Regions from separate parts of the Homo sapiens genome. Here regions 1, 2 and 4 are each linked to region 3. The links are contacts of gene promoters, found by promoter capture Hi-C in blood cells and fetal thymus (Javierre and others, 2016). All regions are on one chromosome and are shown on one strand. Each heading gives the region's core, a stretch centred on a gene start or on the middle of the fragment in contact. The rest is flanking DNA. Distances are from core to core; before and after follow the strand shown.

Region 1 (4,628 bases), core at 1,127-3,626, 200 kb before region 3:
AGGAAAATGATTTTCTCCAAATTACATTTCTACTCAAATGCACTCCAAACCCGAGTTATTTCCCTAATTATATTTTATATGCAATGAATTTTTAAACCTCTTTATGCACTTTATGCTCTTGGTTGGCAATTGAACATCAATTGAATTTCCATTAAGTTGGAAACCACAGGTACTGGTAGTTTTTAAAGATGTGATTTTAGCAAGGTATTTGTCTTGGGATAATAATAATAATAATGCATCCACTGACTACTTTAAAGTTTACAAAATCCTGTCCTGCAGAGAGCCAGTATGGCATCCTAAAAAGACCTGAGGCTTTGGCTTCAGACCTGAGTATGAATCCCACTGTAGCCACTTACTATCACCCTTCCTCTCAGTTTTCTCATCTGTAAAATGGGGAGAACACCTATGTTGAAATGTTGTTGTCATTAAACAAGAATGAATGCATGTACAATTCTTAGCATGAAATAGTAGCATTAAAACCCCCAATATTTAATCTTTGCAATTTTATTAGGAAGTAGGTTTTATCTCTCTTATAAGCATGAGTCAGTTGAGGCTCAGGCAACTCATCCAGGGTTGCCAACTCTCTTTTATGACTCCAAGTCTAGGACATTTCCCTCCCTTTGGCTACTTCTGGAACAAGACTACGAAAACTGATAAAAGGATTAGCAGCAGGCTGGGTGCGGTGGTTCATGCCTGTAGTCCCAGCACTTTGGGAGGCCGAGGTGGGAGGATTGCTTGAGCCCAGGAGTTCGACACCAGCCTGGGCAAAATGGCAAAACCCTGTCTCTATAATTTTGTAAAAGTTTTATAAAAGGATTAGCAGCAATTGCTAGATATGACCTCTCATATGTGATCTAGACTCCATTAAGGCAGCCATTCCCAGCCCAACATATGTGCCATACTGCATGACTCAAGGCTGCTGTTGCATTAGCTGAAACTCCATCTTTTCTCTCCTGCTCAGAAAAGCCCACGAAGGGAGAGTGTGGGTGGGGATTGCAGGGATAACCTGCAATCCGCTCTGTTTCCAGCCTCCTAGTACTTTATTACTGATAGCAAGTTTTTTGAACACACTTCACACCTTATAGCAGCACACCACAGTTGGGAACCATGGCATAAGACGTGTTCTAGGGAGAATAAGTAGGTCACTTTGCACTAGGGGTTTCCTGCTGGGGAGTAGTGAGAAAGATGGTGGAGCCAGTAGGAGTTTAAAAAGTTAAGACTTGATCTTGTAGGCACTCAGCCTCTTGGGTAGGAAAGCAGTGAGGCTAAAATGGTAGTCTGTAGGACCTGGAAAAAGCCTGGAAGCCAGGAAAACAGTTGGTCTATTGAAGTGAGCCAGATGGAATGAGCTGAAATCCTGAACTAAGGCAGTGGCAGCAGGAATGGAAAGGAATGAACAGATCCAAGAAGATTTGTGACTGACTGGATATGCATGGCCAACCAAAGAGGTAAAAGGGCCATGTAATAAAGCAGAAGTTTCAACATAAGCTGTCACTTAGGCAGTAGGTTTCCTCCTCTAAGTATATTTTGCTTAAATATGTATCAAAATGATCTTGCAGCCCCAGGACTCAATATCCCTGTTGGTGGAAAGTAAACAGTTTGGAACGGTGCTAAACAGCAGAAAAAGCACTGGCTTAGAATTAGACATTTACAGCACACAGTTCATAAAATATTAATATATTTTTTCACCAAGTTACTGCCTTATGGAAGTGTTTGGTTAACCTGCTTCACTGGTTTTTGATATTGGGCTAAGTGACTTTGTGGTTAGTCATACAAACATGCTGGTATCTAAATGCAGGAAGTGATTCTAGAACATTACAAGTGGGTGATACAACCTTGTGGATTGTTATCTTTAGGCACCTGACCAGCCAATAACTAGGACGTTTGAAGTGATTAAGAAAATCTATTTTTTAAATTATACTTTAAGTTCTGGGTCATCTGATACACTGTATATCTCACGCCCATGAATGTAGGCTCCTTAAGGGTGGGGATTTTTTTTTTTTGTTCACTGCTGTAGCCCCATCAGAGAACAGAGCCTGTCACTTAGTAGATGCTCAATCAGTAATTGTTGAATGTGTGACACCAGGGATCATGAGTGTCTGGCTCACCAAAGGAGCCCTGGTGCTGATTTTACAGAAGGAGCTTAATAAAACCTGATTTAGTTGAGCCAAAACAAATTGAACAGCATTTGGACTAGTAAAACACATTTTTATTTGGCTTTATATTGTGTGAAATACAGTAAAATAATTTTAGGTTGATAATTCTTTACATGAGATATTCAACAGTAACAAAATTATATTTGTTCTTTTGCTAGTGATGAGTTGGAACAATTCATGGAAAATCAAGGTGCATCGAGCCCAGGTATCCTCATTTTAACAACAAACCTCAGCAAACCATTCATGCGACTGGAGAAATATGTTACTCTCTTGCAAGAGTTAGAACGGCATATGGAGGTAAGGGAAGGTGAACTTTTTCAAGCTCGTGTGCCAAGTATGGTCCTGTGCTCTGGAGGACGCAGCCAATTTGCCTCCAAAATGGCCTTGCAGAGGAATCAAGGTCTTGGATTCAAAATTTACTTTATCTGTTCTTCCCTCTTCTCAGGCTTCTAGTTTTCCTTTTTATGCAGCAAAATAAGATCCTTACTCTTTGCTACTAGATATTAATGATCATTCTCCCTTTTCGCTCTTCTCTTCCAAGCCTTGGTCCTGTGGCTTCCCTTAAGTCTATGCTTACTTGCTAACTTGAGTTTTCTTTTGCCCTCTCAGTAGTTTGGTCAAAATCCAACTAAGAAATCTTCTTTGTTTCTGGTATATTAACCAACTTTATTGTGGGAGATAGAGCAAAACAACATCAGAATGTACAAAGAACAAGTTCACTATAGACAGGAATATTTATCTCTAGAATTCTGCCATCATTCAACTTCCTGACTCTGGATAACAGTGGAAGATTCTGGTATTCCTTAAAGACTAATGGATGGATACAATATTAGTGGTATCTCTCTACACATCATGCATGTACATCAGAGTCCCCCCACATTTTTATTTATAAGCCTACAGTTTACTTGCAACTGTTGTAGCATAGCTATAATCTTTTCTAAATTCTAAGATTTTGCAATGAGGCCTGATAATTGAATATTTTTTCACCAAGAACCAAAGGCCTCATGTTATGAAAAACCAATCAGCAGAGCTAGCTCCTTGAGCCATTCTTTTGTGATTGTTCATGGGGGATTTAAGTGTGGGTGGGAGAGGAGGGCCTGCTGGAGGAGGCTGCATTTACCCTAGTTGCTCTTCCTGTGTCTGGGGAAAGGTTTTGAGGTTTCAAGGGGTTTGATTATCTTTAAAGAAAAAGAGTGCACCCGCACTCTGCCGGGCTTGTCAGCATTTGTAAGGATTGAAAGAATGTTCTCTGAGCGAAACCACATTCTCAGGGTATTTGACCTGCCTGAAAGCCGGAGGCAGTGGGGAGCTGGTGAGCAAAGCCTGTCAGTGTGAAATTTCAGTTAGGGCTCAGGAAGGTGTTGACCTCTGGATGCCTTTCCATAAGCTAAACCAGTTTGCTGAACCGTTTGAGGTTTGCCCCTCCTTGCTTATCACAAAAATCCAGAAACGAGTGGCCTCAGTTTCTATTACTTTTCAGTGTTGAAATGCAAATATGCACTTATTTTGGGGAGAAACAAATCCCAGATGCTCCTGCTGCCTGGATCCTATATCTCAGTCTTTCTTGTAGTGGAGCCTGTTCTCCTCCTGCTTCCATTTGCTGTGGGTCACATGTCTTTGGCTGCCTCTCATTTCCCATCATCAGAAAATACAAGCCTTTAGAACTAGTTCACCACTGGGTGAGACACTTTGTGCAGATTTCAGAGCATTTGGCATGGCTGCTAACAGTAGAATAAAGCCTGAACTTCTTGTTTGTCAGTTGATTTGGATAAGGATAAATTTTACTGTAAAGGAATACAACCTTACTTTTTATGAGCAATGTCATTCTTGGCTTGGGTCAGGCCCCTAATCTGTTCAGCTCTGTATTTTATCACCCGAGACTAGTGGGGCAGGAGATTTAGTCTTCCCTTACTCCAGCTGAGTTCCAAAGGACATATCCCCTATGCCCCAATGTTAGGTGCACATCTACCCATAAGAATCTGTGTCTTCCCTTCATAAACAGTTATGGAATTATGGATTCCTCTAAGCCGTTTTTGAATCTGTCCACTTTCGGAATTGCAAGTACCACAGGATTGCAGGCCATGTGTAAGAGCCTTGCTTAAGAAGGAAAATATGGTATGAAACTTGGAATCTTTTCCCATCTGCCATGTTCACACTGCTGAAAGAAAATGGAGGCATTTTAGGAAATGGAATTAGATTGATTTTTCTCTTGAGTTTTTGTTGTTGTTGTTTGTTTGTTTGTTTGTTTTGAGACAGGGTCTCACTCTATCACCCAGGCTGGAGTATAGTGGCACAATCACAGCTCATCACAGTCTCGACCTCTGGGCTCAGCTGATCCTCTCAGCTCAGCCTCCCAAGTAGCTGGGACTATAGGCATGCACCACCATGCCCGGCTGATAGATTGATTTTTCTCTAACCACGACTCTTGTTTCCACCATTCCCTACCTCCTGTCATCTACCAACAACATGACC
Region 2 (4,648 bases), core at 1,756-4,255, 250 kb after region 3:
GATTCTCTTTTGGTGTCTTTGGCACTCTGTTGGGATGAGTCTGTGGCTTTGTTATGCCCTCTCTTTTTCACTTCTGTCTTTCTTCAGTTTGTCTTTTGTGGTACTGGGCATCTGGCTACCTGTCTCATTCCGTATGATTCTCTCTGACACCAAATTTTTCTCTTGTAGGTCATTTCACTACTTGACTTGGAGTATGCTTCACTCCTTCTGAATCTAGCGTGGTCGCTGTGACACTGTCCTCTATCTTCCTGGCATTCTCTCTTTCTCTTTATTCCAGGGATTTTTTTTTTTTCTTTGAGACAGAGTCTCACTCTGTCGCCCAGGCTGGAGTATAGTGGCGTGATCTTGGCTCACTGCAACTTCTGCCCCCCCGGTTCAAGCAATTCTCCTACCTCAGCCTCCCAAGTAGCTGGGATTGCAGGCGCCTACCGCCACGCCTGGCTAATTTTTGTGTTTTTAGTAGAGATGGGGGTTCACTATCTTGGCCAGGCTGGTCTTGAACTCCTGACCTCGTGATCCACCCTCCTTGGCCTCCCAAAGTGCTGGGATTACAGGCGTGAGCCACTGTGCCCAGCCTATTATAGGGATTCTTAAGTGTCCCTAAATAAGCCTTAGTCTGTCTTTTGGTCTCTGACTCTGGCCTTTTTCTGCCTGAGGCAGCTTGATTTTCTTTATTCTGTCTTTGTCTTAGCTTCTGTCTGTTTTTCCCCATCTTTATATCCTCTGCCTGCCATTCTCTCAGTGTGTTGTATTTTTATTTCCCTCTCTTATTTTCTGTCACTCTAATATTTGCATTTCTTTTTCTCTCCTTTTCTCTTTGGTTCCATTTCTCCCATGAAGCTTCCTCTTGTCTTTCTCTGCGGTGCTCAGTTTCCTCCCTCCTCATCCATACCTTTGCTCTTGTACGTGCTTCCTCTCCAGCCCTGCACCCTATCTGGAGAGCTTCCTGATTCTAGGACACTTCTTGTGCCACTTTTTCCCCATCCATGGTGTACTATATCTCTCCCTTTCTGAACCCTTTTCTGTGGTTGTTTATGCTCTGTTTCATGCTCTAGTATTTGGTAGACTCTCATTCAGAATTTCTGTCACTTTCCATCATCTTCTTGAAACATCTCTCTTATTTTACTTTTCTGTGGTAAAGAGATGAAGGCCAGAGAAAGAGAGAGAATGAACTAAGTAATGATAAACGAAGAAAGAACCAAGAACTAAGTAAAGAACCAAAGAAAGTGAAATACAAACTGTGTGTAGAGTGAGTGGGAGTCCATGGAGGAGAGAGACAAGTCACAGGGACTGAGACCAAAAAATAAAGACTATCTTAGAGAAAGAGGAAGCTGCCAGAGAGAACACAGAGAATAGAAGAGAATGCAGCAAAATGACACTGCAGACAGAAAGGGAGCCACAGACATGGCAGGAGAAGGGGCAAAAGAAAACCCCAGATAGCTAGTGCGGGAGAGTCCCAGACAGAACAGGGGACATGGGACACTGTAAGTAGGCTACATATAGCAAAAGAGAGGAATTCTGGAGAGCAGAAAAAAAAAACCCAGACTCAGTGGTGCTGAGGAGGGATGAGTGTGGACAGGAGGTGTATATGAAATGGGATAGGAACTTCTATGTGAGCCCTGGGTGGCCACGATGTGAGAAGGGACCTGGAAGAGAGCACAGTAGGTAATGCATTTGGAAACAGTGGAATAGAATCAGAAATAGTTTAATAATACAAAGTTAATCTTTGTTTTTAGTCTATTATAGTTTCAGGGTTTCTAAGTAATTCAGAACAACTGCCTTTCTGTTAGAAAATATAATTTTCAAATGTTGCCCATTGTATCAACTTTATTTTAAGAATTGCGGTTGCTTTTCTTCTCAGAAGATATGGCTCATCTCCATTTTCCTAGTACGTTTATCTTTGCCATTGGTAGAAACAGTAGAGGCTTTGTAAGGATGGTGTTTGCTATGAAACGGTTGTTGTTAGGGAAAAATAGAAGATCTCTGGTCCTAAAAGTTGATTTGCTTACCTGAGTTCATGGTATGGCACAGTACAAGGATGAGAAATATTTGAGAGAAGAGCTCATTTCTGGAAGTGGAGTTGTTTTGCTGCAGCATGGTATTTACTTTGTATAGCTGTTGTCTTGACCAGCTAAAGTTGAGGTCAAGACAAATATATTGATTATCTTTTTTGAAACTTTATTTTTATTAGTTAACACCAGAATTTTAGCTGTTACAGATGTGAGTATACTAGATGATTCTGGTATAAATTTAACTTATATGTGTGCTGATTTTTCCCCTGCCTCATTCTACAAAGAATTTAAGGTGACTTAAAAATACATACCACACCAGATGATAAAAATAAATGGTTGGGGGAATCAAGCAGAGGGGAAAACTAACATAGGCAAATAAAACATAAGGTATGATTAGCATGCACAAAAGTATACCAATCAGTCTTTGTACAGTTGCTAGAAAGAGGCTACACATTTGGCTCTAAATTTCCTAATGATACAAACAAAGAGGAAAGCATGGTCATTTTCTTAATGCAAGGTCCATAAGATAAAAAAAAATGAGTTATTTAGGAGAAGCACTGGTATTGATTGATAGCTGAGACATATCTCCAATTATTTTAAACTTTTACCTGAGACAGAAATTTGGTTATGGTTTATTTTATAAACCACAGATCAAAATTATACTAATTTGATGAATATGTAAAAATATGTTGGCTTTTATTTTAAATAGGAAAAATTTACAGCCATTCTTTATCGTACTTTGGAACGGAGGAGACTTGCTGATGATTATCAGCAAAAAAGATGGTCATGGGGAGGCTCTGCAATGGCGAATTCTGAGAGCAAAACTGGTAATTAATACACCCATTAAATTTTAAGTTTGTTTATGTTCTTGTTTAAATATTGGCTATGAGTAGAAGCTTGCATTTACAGCAAGATTTTAGTGTTTGTATCCTAAACAAAAATACTGTATATAGTAAATTTAAATTTCTGTCATATGCCATTGCAAAAGAAACAGGTGAAATGTTATAGTAGATTTTATTTAGCTCAATATACCTAAAATCTTATTTAAACTTATAATCAGCAGAAAAATGCTGAATAATGACTAAGCTTTACACAGCTTATCAAATGCATATTTTTAAAAATAAGTCTGCCTTGTCTACTATTGATTTAGTGTAAATTTTCTTATATGCACATAATTCTACACAATTTCAGAAAACAAAAGTAAAATTTATGTAGTTTAGAAGGATTGGCCAGTTGCCGTGGCTCACACCTGTAGTCCCAGCACTTTGAGAGGCCAAGGCGAGCAGATCACTTGAGGTCAAGAGTTCAAGACCCGCCTGGCCAACATGGTGAAGCCCCGTCTCTACTAAAAAAAAAGGATTGACGGGCAGTGATATTGTGAACTTGAGTAATGTAAGTCTGTGCTCCATAGAACTATATCATGAAAACTCATTTTTTTTTCAGTTAATGATTCTTTCCTCCTTGAAATATGATTACAGTAAGTATTATGTCTTTTCTCAGCCAATAAACGATCTGCATCTACTGAAAAACTTGAACAGGGTACTTCTGCTTTAATCAGACAAATGCCTTTGTCATCTGCAGGCCTTCAAAATTCCGTTGCCAAAAGTAAGTAGTTATTTCATGTATTCTACTGAATTTCTATTAAATGAAATCAGTTCTTTATATTTTTACAGTACCACCTATTTAGATTGTGGAACATTTATGTTTATTTCAGAAGAGTCCCATGTTATTTTACAGCAGAGGGAGAGAGATAGTCATACTTTTTTTTTTTTTTTTTTGAGACAGAGTCTCACTCTGTTGCCCATACTGGAGTGCAGTGGCATGATCTTGGCTCACTGCAACCTCTGCCTCGTGGGCTCAAGCGATTCTCGTGCCTCAGCCTCCCAAGTAGCTGGAATTACAGACCTGCATCACCACGCCCAGCTAACTTTTGTACTTTTGGTAGAGACGGGGTTTCACCATGTTGGCCAGGCTGGTCTTGAACTCCTGACCTCAAGTGATCCACCTTCCTCGGCCTCCCAAAGTGCTGGGATTACAGGCGTGAGCCACCATGCCTGGCCTTGTATTTTCATCAATATACTTGTTTCATGATGTTTGTGTTAATCATATCAGATGGGATTATTGGACCTCAGTAGCTGAAACTGAAACATATTTTGGTCAAAAGACACTGCCATTAAGTGGCATAATTATTTATTTGAAGATTAGTTCATATTCTACCAACATATAAATGAAATTGTGTTTTCTACAGACTGGTTAGACAGTTATTCAATTTCCATTAAGTATTGTGAATATTACCTCATTTTAGAAAAATAATAGCATATATATAGCAGTGGACAGGTTGATCTGCATTACATATATCATATTTGTTATTCACAATTATCTTAGAAAATTGACAGACAAGTATAATTGCCTTCCTTGTTTTATAGTTAAGACTCCAAGAAATTCAGTGATTTCTACTCTAACATCCTTTTCTGTGGTTTATATTTTGGTCATTTGATAGATGGATCATGATATTTAAGTTGTACCTTTCATTTATAAGTCAATGTTTTCCCCCAAAAGCAAATAATGTGATAATGATGTTTAATGATAGACGTATTGCCAAGTTCCACTTTACAACTCTTCCTAATGGCAATACA
Region 3 (4,205 bases), core at 918-3,417:
GGCAAAGGTCCAAATAAATGTCAAAGTTACCAAATTTTAGGGTGAGAAGTGACCTTAGTGGTCATCCAGTTCTACCCTCCGTGCATATGTGTATAACCAAGTCAACATTAACCAACTAGAATTGGCTATGGTTTTAAATGCACATAATACATCCCAATATTTTTATTTATGCTAATCTCCTTTTCCATTATTCACTCCTATGAGATATTCCAGATTTGCAATTTTATAATTTTATGTATAGACTCTCTATTTAGGACAAATAAACATTTATCAGCATGACTTTATGTGTGACTGAGAGTAATTCACCACCTGTGTATTACCTTAAGTGTAATACACTTAAGGTACCTAAAAGACTTCTTTTGTATAAGTGACTGATGTTAAACTGAATTAATTTTCCTTTCTTCATGAGTGAACAGTTATCAACCTTCCTAGAAGAGAATTCCAAGGGTTTATGTGGTAAAGAGGAGAGGATTAATTTCTTCCCCGTTTGTAAGTGTTAATTCGTTGCCCAACCTGATCAGTGGACAGATTTAGGGCGAGGCAAAGTTGCAATCAGAAGTCCTGTGCCGGTACAGAGATACCTCCTCATTCAAACAAATCCACCTTAAAATCTACAGTCATTAAGCCAGTCTGCCCTCAAATAGAATATAAGACCAGTCAAAGCAAAAATCATCAAAAGACACAGGGAAAGGTTTTCCTCCTCTCAGATTCTAGAATCTGAAGAAGTTATTCCTTCTGGTACTGCCAAACATCGATTACTTACAGGAATCTTGCAGGCTTTGTAAAGCATCATTTTTAACATTTGGAGCCTCAAATTTTTTCATGTTTTTACAGTTATTCTACAATAGGAACACAGAAAAACAGAGTACTTGGACTGAAAATATCCTAACACAGAATCTGAACACCCTGACTGCAAGAGGATCTCACACGCTCTCTCCACAGAGCTCTAAAAGTCAACCAAGATTAATTTATTTCTCTGGAAATGATAATGTCACTGAATGCCTACAGAGAAAACAAGTAGAATTACGTGATGACATTACACTAAGTTACCAGGGAGTTGAAAACCTCACCGTTTTTCTGCCATTAGCTAATTTGATGAATTTCAAATAAATTAGATGCCTGTGTCTTTTTACCACTCTTCCAATATACAGTTATACATATGTGGTCAATTTCACACCTATCCTGGTTTTCATGTTGACTATATTGCACCACTAGGCTGCACTAATGTATAAAGCATGAATTTTTTTCCTTTACACCTGGAACAATTTGCTTTACTTAATAAACTGGAGAAAAATAAAAACCCCGTTCAGTATACTTCCGAGCAAACAATAAGAATAAATTATCCATAAAGCATGCAATTTCAACTTCTCCTCCGTGCTAACACAGAAATTTTAACATTCTTACACTAACTTTTATTTTAAATGCCACCAGATTTTCCAATCTCACATCCACGTTACAGAGTGTGAGAAAAGCAGAATAGTAGCCAGTAAATGCTAAGTACAAGCTTTCCTTTCTTTTTGCCCAATTTCACATCCTGGCAAATATAATGGAGAAAAGAAACTCACCTGTCAGCGCTGAGAATTGTTAATGTGAACACTGACACACCAACAGAAGTGAGCCGGATGAAAGAGAGCACCTTACAACCAATTCTTCCGAACAGCCATCCTTCTGCAAGGTAGTGAGTTGCATCCACTGGCACACAAGTTAGCAGAAGTAAAAGATCTCCAAAAGCCAGGCTGGTGATGAAAATATTTGGAACTGTTTGCATGGATTTGGTCTTGAAAAAGACTTTGATGAGAATAGCATTTCCAAGGATGCCCACTGAAATGATCACAGCATAAGTAATATAGATGGCACACAATGCTTCTATTCCTGGAGAGTTGTCCCCGCTCCATCCTTTATTTGTGTTATCGTTAGAAACCACAGAGCTTGATGATTCTGTGTCATTTGTGATTGAAATTAAAGTCTGATTAGGTGAGTGAGGCTGCCTTTGAGCCATTTCTTCTGAAGACTGTGTCTTTAATATTTCTTCTTCTCAGTTCAAATGCAGTTGATTGTCACGTCCAATGCCTACGTCTAGTAACGAGATGGTATTAGGAGAACAGAACAGAACAGAATGGGAAGAAAATCCAAGACATCCAGATACTCCTTTGCTTCAGTTCTGTGTGTCTCCCAGCATGCTTGGCTAAATGCTTACCCATCTGGCACTGAAGAGTAGGAGGTGGAGTTTTATTGGCGTGTCCTGTCATAAGGAGAGGGAGGGGGCTGGGGAAATGCTCTGCAGTTGCTTATTCTTCCCTGTTGGGGAATCTTGGGACCAACTAGACCCTATTAAATCGTCTTATTTATTATTAGAATCACCCTGTTTTCATATCTACCCAGGATGGTCTATATAGGTTTTGTCAATTTTTTTTAAGAAAAAAACCATTTATCCCCCTGCAATCACATGGTAGTCTAGTGCATTTTGTTTTACATGATAAATAAGTGTAGGTGTCCCCTGAAGCACAACCTTGAACCCACTCCTCAAAATTTAATATCAGAGAGATGGTGAAGCAACAGATCATTTACACTTCGACAGGGTTTATGTCACCTCCAAGGAGTGATCATTCAGGTCACTTGGGCTTAATACCTAGCTCTGTCACGTGGTAAACCCCAACTTTGCAGTTATCCAGGCTGTGCTGTACACTATCAAAACAACCTTTTTAATTTTTTTTTTTTTTTTGAGATGGAGTCTCACTCTGTCACCCAGGCTGGAGTGCAGTGGCTCGATCTTGGCTCACTGCAACCTCCACCTCCTGGGTTCAAGCAATTCTCCTGCCTCAGTCTCCCGAGTAGCTGGGATTACAGGCGCCCGCCACCATGCCTGGCTAATTTTTGTATTTTTAGTAGAGACAGGGTTTCACCATGTTGGCCAGGCTGGTCTTGAACTCCTGACCTCAGGCAATCCGCCTGCCTCAGCCTCCCAAAGTGCTGGGATTACAGGCATGAGCCACCACACCCAGCCAAAACAACCTTTTAAGAGATGAAAAATCCAGGCACAGCACCAGTTGCTTTGTCTCTAAATGTCCTAATAAAACCACTTTTTACTGTTTGACTGTCTGTTTTAATGCCATGTTTTCTTTTAAGGGGCTGTTTAGGATTTTTCTCTCTAGAAATGGTTAAAGGGAACCTAACCTGCCTTATTCCAAAACAAAACAATACAGAACATCACTGCTCAAGCTCCTGACACAAAAGAACTTTTAAGAATGAAAATCATCATTTGCAGATGAAGAAATGAAATAGGTGACTCCAGGGATGATGGGCATGTAGATGATGTTTACATCAACTGAAAGAAGTACACATTTAAGGCAACCACCTCAGTACCAGCCAGAGAAGCTACTTTTTACAGAAAACATAACCATGTGCTTTATATGTATGTGTTTGTGGTGGGGGCACTGTTTGGGAGCAGGAAGCTAGCAGTTGGAGTGTAGTTACTAATTGAAGCTGCTAAGAAATATTCTCTGAAATTATCAAATGCAATGCATAATCTCTCAGCTAGAAACCATGTAGTGAGGTGTTCATAAATATAACCATATTAGAAAGTAGTCTGGGGAGCGAAGTGAAAAAGAGCAAAGTATTTGGCTAGCTAATGAACAGGGGGAACAACAAAGGTTGTTCTTTATACTTAGTAGGGGCAATCAGTTCTTCAGAGAAAGTGAAGTGGATGAATTGAATCAATTACCTCCTTAATTTCATGAAGGGTGGAAGACAGATGTGGTTTAAGTCCCCCAAACCACACCTATCCCCCACCCTTTATAAGTTATTGCCACAGCTTGAATCACTCAGCTAAATAACTGCCTTTGATGGGAATGGGGGTGCGGGGGAGTGTTTGCATAAACCCAAGTTCCTAAGCTTTCAGATATATACACTCTAGTAATTTCATACACTGGGCTGGTTCTTTAAGATTGTCTCTACAGAAAAGGGCTCCTTAAAGGGTTCACATCTTGTTCTCAGCAAACTAATGATAAAATCTCCCTGGGACTCCTGTGTATCATTTACCAAGGAGCAAACCATGTCTTCCAATTCACACCACAGCCGATCTCCACATGGCACTGTTTTGTAAGTTCTGTAATGCTTGCATGTGATTTCTGAGATTATCTGAATTCCCAGATCTCACTCATGCTTTCAGCAGGCTGCAGCCACTGGAATACTTTTTCTTCTCCCTC
Region 4 (4,638 bases), core at 690-3,189, 220 kb before region 3:
ACTCCACCCCCAGGCTGGAGTGCAGTGGTGAGATCTCGGCTCACTGCAACCTCTGCTTCCCAGGTTCAAGCGATTCTCCTGCCTCAGCCTCCTGAGTAGCTGAGACTACAGGCATGTGCCACCACGCATGGCAATTTTGTATTTTTAGTAGCGATGGGATTTCGCCATGTTGGCCAGGCTGGTCTTGAACTGCTGACCTCAAGTGATCTGCCTGCCTTAGCCTCCCAAAGTGCTGGGATTTCAGGCGTGAGCCACCACACCCGGCCTAGTGTTACTATACACTTAAGGAGAAGAACATGTGGCAGACATGGGCTTTTTTATTTTTTGACAGAGTCTTACTCCATCACCCAGCCTGGAGTGCAGTGGCACGATCTCAGCTCACTGCAACTTCCGCCTCCCAGGTTCAAGCAATTCTTCTGCCTCAGCCTCCCGAGTAGCTGGAATTACAGGCGACTGCCACCACACTCGGCTAATTCTTTGTATTTTTAGTACAGACGGGGTTTCACCATGTCGGCCAGGCTGGTTTTGAACTCCTGGGTTCAAGTGATCCACCCGCCTCGGCCTCCCAGAGTGCTGGGATTACAGGCATGAACCACCACGCCCAGCCCAACCTTGGCTTTTTAAACAAATCTTCAGAAACGTTTTCTCCCAAAAAGTGGTTAAGAGCATGGACTCTGCAGCTAGAATGTTTTGGTTCAATTTCTGTCTTTGGCATTTCCTGGCTTTGTACCTTTGGATGATTTGCTTAACCTCTCTATGCCTGGGTTTCCCCACCTGTAAAATGGAAACAGCACTGGCATAATACCTACCTTAAAGAGTTATTGTAAGGTTAAAATAAGGTTTTAATTGTAAAATGCTTGTGTAAGTGTTCAGTGCTCTATGAGTGTTGACTCTTGTTATTATTATCACTTACTGTTTGGTAGGGGAGGAATGGATAAGAACATTCTTCATACAGAGGCCCTGGATAAAGTGGTTCAGTTTGCCTTTATTTGACTTCACTCTACTCCAGAAACAAACAAATCAATACTATTTTTTTCCTCCTACTTCATCTCATAAAGATTTCCTTTAATTGATGTATGAGCATTTTAGTTTAGGAGAAAGTTGATTTTGCTATTTTTTCTTGTGTATTATATGAGCATATATAATATCTTTCAATTACTGTTCCAGTTCATCCAGAGGAAGGTACTCAAGAGTTTTTTACACTTATTCACAGCTATGATGTATTTTTATCTATTTGTATACTTCAGTATTAAGCACTTGTTTTAATTTACCTGTTGCTTTATAAAATACCTAATTGTCCCTTACGACCACTCCATTTCTTTAGGATCATTATTCTTATTATATAAAAGAAAATCAAGGGGAGAAGCTTAAGAAGCTGCCTAAGACAATAGAGTTGTTATAAATTAAAAAGCAAAAGTTAAAATATAGGTATTACCTCCCTTTTATTTACCATATATTAGCAAACTATTAGCCAACTAGACTACAATAGATAACTACATGTACTGTATTTTTTTTTCAGTCTGAGTACTGTGGAGGTTACATCTTTACTGGGAAACTTCGAGGAAGTATGCACATTTCAACAGACACTCTGCCAAGCCTTGGAAGAATGTTCAAAGTAAGTGTGGCATATTTCTGATAGGATAGCCAGCAACATTGCTGTTTGTGTTTTGTTTTCCTTTTACCTGTTGCCTTTGATAAGGACACTTCATAGTTAAGTATTTGTTACAGCTCTGAACAAAGTAGCAATACATAGACAGTGTACTAGGTGGCAGTGTTCACAGTGTCAAACCACTAGTTGTATATTAGAAGTCTATATCTTGTAAATTACTTTTGACTTTATTTAAAAAATACATCAGTTTGCTGTTTCTGGTCAGTATAAGAGACACATAAGGTCTTTTTTTTTTTTTTAATGTTCCTTAAAGTTCTGGGATAAATGTGCTGAACGTGCAGGTTTGTTACATAGGTATACATGCGCCATGGTGGTTTGCTGCACCTATCAACCCGTCATCCAGGATTTAAGCCCTGCATGCATTAGGTATTTGTCCTAATGCTCTCCCTCCCCTTTCACCCCACTCCCCGACAGGCCCCAGTGTGTGATGGTCCCCTCCCTGGAGACACATGAGGTCTTAATTGACCATGAATGACACCTCTGGCACTGATTACATATTTTCTTTTGTACATTGCAAATTACTTGGAAAAGTCATTCAAATGATTCATTCAGTTTCACAGATTTGGTGTCTTTGAATTGCTCCTGATACTATGTCTATTATATTAAGAGTTGAAACACACAGAAAGTGGGGGAAGGAAAAGTATATCTTTATGTGAACCAACACATTTTTGATGGCTAGCTAGATTGTCCAGATGTTTAACTTCATACTACAGTGAACTATAATGATCATCAGGCAATATGTCTCTATAGAAAGACTAATTTTTCAAGCAGCGTATCTTAAAGAAGTTGGCAGCTTTCATCTCTCTAGGGAAATTGAGGTGATTACCTGTTATTTAAGCTTAATAGGACACAGGTGGTTGTCCAGGAAGAACGATGGAGAGGGCCCACACTAAAGGGACTTGAGGGGCCAAGAGGGATCTAGATTATTGATATGCAAAGATGTTCACTAAGCGAGAAGGGCAGATTACAAACTAGATTCATAATCCTTATGTTTTCCATTTTATAGAGAAACATGTAGAAAAAAGCCCAAGAAACATGTCAACATTTTTAGAGTCAGTATCTCCAAATGGTGGGAGTCTGAGAAATTCATTTTTCTTATTACACTTTTCTGATTTTTCTACAAATGAAGACAGGTGGCTTATAATTTAAAACATTAATTTAAAAACTTTTGAGGCCACCCTGCGTAGCAAACACCAGGCCTCCAAGATTACATAATATTCTTTTGTGGTATGTCATTTTTGGATTTGATTAGTTTTGTCTGTACTCAAACTTTAGATAAATTAACCAAGAATATTTTTAGTGTACCCAGCTAAATTTGAAAATAATCATCTTAAAAACAAACAAGCAACCATACCTACTAATTCCAAGTAAGTATCTGACCCTATGTATTACAACTGTGTTTGGTGGCTAGAGTTTAAAGCAGTGGGCAAGAATTTGAGTTTCATGGGTAAAATGGTTATAATATAGTTTCTCTTTTAACCTTGGCAAAATATTCAGAAGGCTTTCATGCTGCCAGGTTTAATTGGAATAATCTTCCTTTGCCTCCTGTTTCCTATTTTACATTCTGTGTTTTGTCCATTTTGTTTACAGGTTTCCAGAAAACCAGCACAAAGTAGGAGGTTGTCTACTGAGTCTCATGCCTCATTTTAAATCTATGTATCTGGCTTACTGTGCAAACCATCCTTCAGCTGTAAATGTGCTCACTCAGCACAGGTAAATAGTTAACATTTCCCCAACTTTTGCAATGAGATCCTTTCTTAGGACCACGTCATTTGGAAATCCAAGGTCTTCAGTTGGACTCTTGATTATCCCTGTTCATGATGCCAGGAATTGATTCATTGTTACATGGATTGATTGTCCATTAATCCAATGAATAAATTCTTGAGCACCTACTATGTGCAAGGCCCTGTACCAGCTGATGGGGATACAGGAATGAACAAGGAGGAGGAGGTCCTTCCCCTCATTGAGCACAGAATCTTGAGGGAAATGCAGATATTAAATTAAATGTTGTAAACGTGTCATATTATGAAACAGTAAATTAAAAGGGTTCTGTGAGATAACATTAACATGATATCAACTTAGTGGGATGTGAAGAAAGGGTCAGGGAGGGCTTTCCTGAAGCAAAATTCTATTTCGAGCCTATCATTTAGCTTTCCCCTACCCCAATGAATGTTTTTTCTGAGTTGCTGACACATAGCTAAACTGTGTAGCTTCATCTCTTTTTGCCTTCCCTAGTCTGCGTAGAGAAAGTTTTAGGCAATGATGTAGCTACAAAGCAGGTGTGAGCTGTGTGACAGATACTTTAAGCAAAGGGCTCTGATAATAATTATACATGAATATAAGTTGCTTCCGATTCATGATGAACAATAGAATAGTGTCTCCTTTAAGAATACGAGTCCTTGCAAGGGACCTAGATAAGTGTTACACCTCTCCTGCCATCCTTAGCTTCTGACTACCCACCCCTGACACATTCACTGACACATTCATCTGGGCCAGAAAACTGTAGGACAGGCTTAGTGACAGAATTTTACCTTTGAAGTCATATGCTGGAAATCCAGGTGGGACAAAAGCAAGTCCAACATATAGAGACTCTTGACTTAACTTGGAGACTAAGATGCAGAATGGACATGGATTCTGGAAGCTGTTCAAGACTGAAAATAATATTCTCTTAATCTGACCTAGATTTGAGCTCCCAGAGCTAGGCTAGAACATTAGTTGACACGAGCCTCCAGAAATGACAGAAATTTTGGTTCTTGTCCTGGTTTATTAAGGTGCAATATTTATTGGCTTTACAAAGATGTTATGTAAGGACATTTTAAAGGTTGAACGCAGTAAGTCCTGCTTGAAGGTCAATTTTATTCCTCTGATAAATTTTGAACTCTTATGGAATAGCAAATATGGAAATTGGAGTTTAAAGAAAGAGAGGTCATGAACCTGGCATTTTTAGGCAAGTGGCTCAACTGCTTATA

Evidence for each region. The method cuts DNA at HindIII sites, captures the fragments that hold promoters and counts their contacts. A CHiCAGO score of 5 or more calls a contact.
Region 1: a contact is called between a fragment that was not itself captured here and the fragment with the promoter of BRS3 in region 3, in 1 of 17 cell types (total CD8 T cells). The highest score is 5.6, in total CD8 T cells.
Region 2: a fragment that was not itself captured here is called in contact with the fragment with the promoter of BRS3 in region 3 in 1 of 17 cell types (naive CD4 T cells); the score reaches 5.3 in naive CD4 T cells.
Region 4: a contact is called between a fragment that was not itself captured here and the fragment with the promoter of BRS3 in region 3, in 1 of 17 cell types (naive CD8 T cells). The highest score is 5.0, in naive CD8 T cells.

The regions. Positions count from the first base shown.
Region 1 is chrX:136,688,435-136,693,062 of GRCh38, reverse strand. It overlaps ARHGEF6 (Rac/Cdc42 guanine nucleotide exchange factor 6), which reads left to right. Exons shown (of 22, transcript NM_004840.3): 10 at 2,315-2,453. Among named protein-coding and RNA genes, the nearest start is that of CD40LG, 43 kb to the right of the region's middle. The HindIII fragment of the contact is 5,738 bases long and covers 1-4,628 here.
Region 2 is chrX:136,239,351-136,243,998 of GRCh38, reverse strand. MAP7D3 (MAP7 domain containing 3) reads left to right here. Exons shown (of 19, transcript NM_024597.4): 5 at 2,722-2,839; 6 at 3,513-3,617. Among named protein-coding and RNA genes, the nearest start is that of MAP7D3, 9.7 kb to the left of the region's middle. The HindIII fragment of the contact is 190 bases long and covers 2,911-3,100 here.
Region 3 is chrX:136,485,909-136,490,113 of GRCh38, reverse strand. It overlaps BRS3 (bombesin receptor subtype 3), which reads right to left and starts at 2,167. Exons shown (of 3, transcript NM_001727.2): 1 at 1,566-2,167. The coding sequence starts at 1,999. The HindIII fragment of the contact is 2,387 bases long and covers 1,507-3,893 here.
Region 4 is chrX:136,705,652-136,710,289 of GRCh38, reverse strand. ARHGEF6 (Rac/Cdc42 guanine nucleotide exchange factor 6) reads left to right here. Exons shown (of 22, transcript NM_004840.3): 8 at 1,520-1,615; 9 at 3,260-3,382. Among named protein-coding and RNA genes, the nearest start is that of CD40LG, 60 kb to the right of the region's middle. The HindIII fragment of the contact is 1,141 bases long and covers 1,369-2,509 here.